2 separate regions of the Homo sapiens genome follow, and region 2 is linked to region 1. The links are contacts of gene promoters, found by promoter capture Hi-C in blood cells and fetal thymus (Javierre and others, 2016). All regions are on one chromosome and are shown on one strand. The core of a region is centred on a gene start or on the middle of the fragment in contact, and the rest is flanking DNA. Distances in the headings are between cores, read along the strand shown. Region 1 holds the start of MPC1 (mitochondrial pyruvate carrier 1). Region 2 has its middle 140 kb from the start of RPS6KA2.

The links. Contacts are between HindIII fragments. The CHiCAGO score rates a contact against its expected background, and 5 or more counts as called.
Region 2: a contact is called between a fragment that was not itself captured here and the fragment with the promoter of MPC1 in region 1, in 1 of 17 cell types (fetal thymus). The highest score is 6.1, in fetal thymus.

Annotation. Positions count from the first base shown.
Region 1 is chr6:166,381,370-166,384,712 of GRCh38, forward strand. MPC1 (mitochondrial pyruvate carrier 1) reads right to left here and starts at 1,571. Exons shown (of 5, transcript NM_016098.4): 1 at 1,437-1,571. The coding sequence starts at 1,507. MPC1-DT (MPC1 divergent transcript) reads left to right here and starts at 1,809. Exons shown (of 1, transcript NR_189630.1): 1 at 1,809-3,343. RefSeq lists an enhancer at 714-893 and silencers at 1,254-1,353, 1,504-2,243. The HindIII fragment of the contact is 5,196 bases long and covers 485-3,343 here.
Region 2 is chr6:166,761,749-166,765,091 of GRCh38, forward strand. It overlaps a transcript of RPS6KA2 not described here. Among named protein-coding and RNA genes, the nearest start is that of RPS6KA2, 140 kb to the left of the region's middle. The HindIII fragment of the contact is 5,905 bases long and covers 1-3,343 here.

The DNA.
Region 1 (3,343 bases), core at 321-2,820:
AGTAAACAGTATTTGCAATAAAATTCAGGATTTAAAACTTTTTTATTGCTAAAATCAAGTTGCCTTCATACTATCCCTTTTGTGTGGTTATAACAGGATTTATTCCTCCTCAGCTTTCATCTCTTTACCTCTTGACCACACTATTAACTACCGAAAAAAAACCGCAGCTGTACACGTACCTAGGTTTTAAAATCATACACTGAAAAACTAACTAAAATTACACTCCTAAATAACCTAAAACTGCTTCAAAGTTATATTCAATATTTTGAAATAAAAGCAAGCGCCCCAAGATGAGAGGTGCAAATAAATTATAGAAAGTGTATTTTCAGGCTTTCCAACCGCGAATGCTCTTTGTTTCTAACTGGAAAGGAGGAGTTAACAGAAAATAGAACAAGAAGAAAAAGTATGACCTTAGAGACACGTCACTTTACTTTGGTTGACAGAATTTCGTATATAAAAACATCTTAAATTGTACTTCCTCCCAAGCTTAAAGTCCTTAGAATGAGAAAACCGAAAGGCGAACCCAAGGCCAGCACATTTTATTTCCGCTGTCCCAGAAGCGCGCTGGGCGCACCCGAAGCTCCGCTCCAACAGCGCCGCGCCGCGCTCTCAGCAGCGCCTCCCGCTGGCGTCTCCCCACCCCACACCCAGGTCGCCGCCTCTGGCACACCTGGACGGCCGCAGGTGACCGGCGACCCACTCCGAGGATCTGGTAGAAACCGGCCAGGAAACCACTCCCGCCCGGAGGAGCGAGCCACTGTCAACTGGCCCGGAGGGACGTGCCCACTGCCAACCATGGGAGAGGAACGAGCCTCTGTCACCCCTGCCGGGTCACCCTGCCCTGAGGGGCGCCCACTGTCACCCCTGCCGGGAGAGGCGTCCCCATGGTCACCCTGTCCTGAGGAGCGCCGTCGCTTTCGTCCCTCCAGGTCCCCACTGCCACTCTGGCCGGGAAGGGCGTCCACTGTTATGCCTACCAGGAGAGGCGTCCCCAGTGTCACCTTGGCCAGGAGGGACGCCCACCGTCACCCACTCCCTGAAGGGGACTCAATGTCACCCCTGCCTTGAGGGGCGCCCACTGTCACCCTGCCGGGAGAGGACACCCACTGTCACCCCCGCCCTGAGGAGCGCCCACTGTCACCCTGCCGGGAGAGGACACCCACTGTCACCCCCGCCCTGAGGGGCGCCCACTGTCACCCCCGCCCTGAAAGGCGCCCACTGTCACCGGCTCTCTACGCCGTCCGCTTCGGGGTGTGGCGGTCCGGGAGGGATCCGGGTGGGGCCCCCCTGACAAGCGCACCCTCTCGCCTGGGCCCCGGCCCACCCGCTGCCCGGGGCCACCGCGTCCTCGCGGCCGCCCTCGTCGCGGACTGCACGGGTCGCAGCCTCCCGGGAGCCCCTCCGGGTTGCGGGGTTCGGCCTGCGGCGCTCGTCACCTCATGAGGTAGTCCCGGAAATCCTTGCTTCGGACATAGTCCGCCGCTTTCCGCACCAACGCGCCCGCCATGGCTGTGCCGACACCAGACCCCGAGTGGTCCCTGCCTCTGCTGCCGCTTCCCAGAGCCAATGACACCCCGGCCAACCCCCCGGCAGCCGACGGCGAGCCAGCCCGAAGGCCCGCCTCACGACACCCGGCCACGCCTTACGGCCGCGCCGCGCCGCCCGGCTCTCGGCCAATGACAGGGCGCAGGGCCAGAGATGGTGGCGCGGACTGGCTGGCTCGTGCCGCACGCCTCCTTCCCGCCCTCGGTGGCGCACGGGGGCGGGGCCCGCTGCCGTAAAACGGCTGGGGCTGGGCCGGGGCTGGCAGGCGGTTGCTAGGCTCCAGCGGCTCCCGGCCAGCGGGGACGTGGAGGTGACATTTCTCTGACCCACAGGACTGTGGGCGCCCTGCCGAGCGTCGCGCGGTCTTGGGGCGACCTGCAGTGGGGCCCCTGCGGCGCAGCGCGCGGTGGGACTGGCCGGGTTCCCGCGCCGCCCAGGGCCTGTGTCTGCGCCGGTTCCTGGCAAGGGCACCTTGGCCGGGCGGCCCGCGTCCCCTGCGCTTCCCACACCCACGTGGGCGGACCCGGCCCGCAAGCTGGGCCAGCCTGCGGTTTCCGGGCACTGGGGAGTGCGCAGAGCCCCGGGCCAGCGACCGCAGCCGGGGCCCCTGGCTTCTCCCGAGCACTTTCCCCCGGACCGGTCCCTCCAGGGTGGCGGGCGGCACCCAGGGCCGGCGCTCCTCACCAACGCGCTGCAGCTACGGGCTCAGGAGGGAGCCGCAGCGTCGGAGGAGGAAAGCATTTAAGAATAGCACAAAGCCTTAGGCTCGAGGAAGCGTGACTGCTTACGTGTTGAAAATAAAGGTTCTGTAAGTCCCACCGCGGGTGCATATTGAAAAGAAAGGGATCATTAGCACGCGACCCTCGCCTAGGAGTATATAAACCGCAGCACGACTTTCGGATCACAAAGGCAGAGAAAAGAACACATTGAAGGCTTTTGCTCACTTTTCCAAGTTGTTTCGTTTCGTTTTGTTTCTAATGTGGACGATCATTTAAAATGCCTCTGGTGGCCGGGCGCGGTGACTGACGCCTGTAATCACAGCACTTTGGGAGGCCGAGGCGGGCGGATCACCTGAGGTCAGGAATTCGAGACCAGCCTGGGCAATACGGTTAAACCCCCTCTCTACTAAAAATAAAAAAATTAGCTGGGCGTGGTGGCATGTGCTTGTAGTCCCAGCTACTTGGGAGGCTGAGACAGAAGAATCGCTTGAACCCGGGAGGCGGAAGTTGCAATGAGCCAAGATTGCGCCATTGCATTCCAGCCTGGGCAACAGAGCAAGACCCTGTCTCCAAAAAAAACAAATAAATATAACAAAATTCCTCTGGTAGCCGGGTGCGGTGGCTCACGCCTGTAATCTCAGCACTTTGGGAGGCTGAGGCAGGTGGATCACTTGAAGTCAAGAGTTTGAGACCAGCCTGGCCAATATAGTGAAACCTCATCTCTACTGAAAATACAAAAATTAGCCAGGCGTGGTGATGCGCTCCTGTGATCCCAGCTACTCGGGAGGCTGAGGCGTGAGAATCGGTTGAACCCGGGAGGTGGAGGTTGTAGTGATCCGAGATTGTGCCATTGCACTCCAGCCTGGGCAACAGAGGGAGATCCTGTCTCTAAAATAAAAAATAAAAGAAATGCCTTTGGTGAACAGGAATTCTCAACATTAGTGACCCGCAGTGTATTAGTGTTAATAATGGACATCCCCTTTGATCCAGCAAGCCCATCTAGAGATTTCCTAGGATAGACAAGCCAGTTTGTGCAATTTCATGTGTACAGCATTGTTTTTAGTATGGAAAGATTAGAG
Region 2 (3,343 bases), core at 550-3,049, 380 kb after region 1:
GTGAGTTGTACCTTTCCCCTTCCTAGGCCCCGGGGAGATAGGAAGGTGGGACCGCACGGCTGTGTCCTCCCCATTGGGAATGGAGTGGAAGGGAAGTGTCTCCTCGCATTTGAGGCAGCGTTGAAGGCGCAAGTTATCCCCTGCACCCCAGTCTCATGGCGAGAACAAAGAGCCCAGGGAGGGTAAAGCTCCAGATGGGGCAGCCTCGTCTCCCAGCCCCCTGGACCTCCCAGAAAGTGGCCGAGGATAACCCTGCCTGTGACCTCATGGAAAAGAAGCCTTGCAGACAGGAGTGAGAAGCAGGCTCTATCACGTGGAGGCCCTGGTGTCACCACAGAGGTACATGGTCTGTCCCACCTGGACCAAGACAAGTGGCAGAAACCTTAGGTACTGGTTTCACCAAAAGGAAACTGAGGCCCAAAGAGGCCACACATCCCAGGCACTAGGACAGTGGTGTCCCTGCGTCCTCCCCTCCCTCAGTCTCCCCACATTTTACCACATTCTCCCTCAGACGCAAAACCGAATCATGGCCTCTCTTTACCGCTCAGCCATGTCAGCTCAACCTTAGCACCGTTCAAAGCAATTGGTATGCATGTGTGTGTTCATGCAGTGTGCGTGTGTGTGTTTGTATGTCTATGCGCATATGTGTGTGTGTGTGCATGTTAAACGGAGGACGGAATATGAAGTTCAAATTCCCCCACGGCACCTGGCGTAGTCCCTGGCACATGGAGTGTGTAAAGTCATGTTCTTAAGTGAAAGTATCTTGGGAAACTGGCCTCATTTTCCCTTACGCAGCTGATCTCGAATCACACAGGATCTCGCACTGGGCTGTAAGCCGGCACCAGGGTTACAACCTGCTGTGCACCACGGTCCCTGAGAGACTCAGCCTCACATGAAAGTCCTGTTTGCTCCCAGTTCACAGGTAAATAAATCAACAGCTCCACGGAGAAAGAATAGCACCTTCCCATCCTGTCCACTCCCAGGAAACGACCTTCACTTCTGCCCCGACTTCTGGGAGCCAACAAGGAAAGCGGAGCAAGCCATGACCCTGAGCCTTGCACCACGAGATTTGAGGCCTGTGGGCACCGAGGCTACTGCAGAGCACAGGTGGAAACACAGGTACATAGGTGACTCTCCGTAGGTCAAAGAAACGGTTTCACATGCTTCTGTGATAACAGCTGCAAGCATGAATAAAGTTCAGTTTCCTTTGGAAGGCATTGATGGTTTCAGCAGCTCTCCTCAATGCGTGGATAGCAAAAATATAGCTACTACAAGGTGGGGTCTGTGATTTATTGTTATTACATTTCCAACAGAGTCTTAAGCTAAAAATATTTGGGACCCAGTAACTGAGAAGTCCTAGCAGTAGTATCAGGATCACAGAAGGAACCACATTTCCTGCCTTACAGGTTTGGTTTCCAGACTTAGCTGAAGCCTGTTAGATGGCATTCGCTTAGCATGGAAAAAGCAAAGCCAAGAATAATTTTAAATTCTTTTGGAGTCATTAAAGGGTTACATTAAGAAAATGGAAAAATATTATTTCCACAAAATAAACTGCAAGAGTAAATTATCTTTGATTTCAGCAAATGTCTGCATCATAGAATCACAGTTAAGACCCTAAAGCCACATGGCTCGGTTCAAATCCATGACTCCCCTACTTGGCTGTGTCACCTGGTACAACTTAATTGCCTCCATGCTCTTATCTGTAAAATGGGAGAGAGCGGCAATGAGAGTGACTACTTCATCTGGTTGTTGAGGGTCAAATGAGTTCACATTGCAAGGTGCTTAGAACATACTGAGTATTCTATAACGATTTACCAAAGAAAAGCAAAGCAAAAACAGGAGCAAGGAAGGGAACCTTGGATTTCCTTGGGGGAACAACCTTGGAAACCAAAAGTTAATTAAGAAAGAGCTGTCAATTTCTTTACCTCCTCCCTGTACAGATAAGAGCATTGAGAAAAGGCGTTTCGTAAGTAGTGAGGCACCACACGGATGAACGGCGACGACCTTGTTAGTTCGCTGTTACAGATCAAGTCCCAAGGGCCCCATGATAATAACCAACTGCAAACGATCCCAGCAAAACCAGAGCTGTGCCTGTCCGTGTACCTCGAGAAAGAGGGGTGCACCCAGCAGTCCTTTAAAGATTGTTTTCAGATCCATGACGGCACGGCCGGCCTTGTCTATGTCCGTCACCAAATGCTGAATTGTGTGGCAGACACAACACTGTCCATGACCTGCTGTAAAGCAGCTTCTGTTAGGGTTCTTGTTGTTCGGCTAGAAAGAATGCGAAGTGTTTGGGGAGTTGTGAGCGTGAGGAATTGCCATGTGCGGGGCTTCTGAGTGCCCTGTGCCTTGCATCGCTGCCGGCTCTGAGGACCACGCGGTGCTGGGACTCCACTCCCACTGGGGAGGGCGTGAGTGAGAGGGTGAGAGAAATGAGGCTGAGCCCCAGCTCAGAGCTGGGAAGACCCCTGGGATCGCCCGGCACAGTGTGGTCAGGGTCATTTAAGGCCAGCGACATTTTAGTGATGGGCAGAGGGAAGGACACCAGGGGGCGCGTGAAAAGGAAGACTGTGAGGCGGGAGGAAGAGTGGGAGGCTCTGCCCAGGGTGGCCGAGGAGCAGGGTGCTTCCTAAAGGAAGGTGTCGAGAACGGCAAGCTCTGAGGAGGTGCTGGAACGCGGGGATCAGGTCTAACAACACGGGGCCCGCGCTTCCCTCCTCACAAGGCAGCTCAATGAAGCTGAAGGAGTGAAATCCAGCCACAGTGAGAAGGCGGGCAGGGGTGGTTGCTGGAGGAGGCCATGCCGCAGGCCTAGATGGGGAAGCAGAGTGGGGCAAGGAGCAGGGGGTTGGGAAGGGGTCAGGGTCCCTGTCACTGACCACATTGAGTGTGGCTGCACTTCCCCAGGCACAGCCGGGTGCCCTCACTCTGTGAAAAACAAACCACAAGGAGCCTGCAGCCATGAGCCCGCAACCCCTGACAACGGGAGGAAGACGCGCCACAGGGACTGGGACAGCGGCCACCGCGGTGACACCTACAGCCACGCAAGCACCTGCGTAAACACGTGCTACAGTCACATGTTACGTATTTCACACATTTACACACTACACAACGTGTGTGTGTTCACACACATGTGTATCAACACACATATGCAGGAACGACAAAGCACTTTGGCAGCCTTGACGTTATCTCTACCGAGTTCTGTCCTCTCATCATATGTCCACGGAGGTGGCATGACCTTCCCAACACCAAACGGCCAATGGGGTGACCCCGCCTGGGTCTCTCAGCTCCAGCCTGGGGCTTTCTCCTCCCTGCCAGCTCCAGGGCAGGTGGCAGGAGGAAC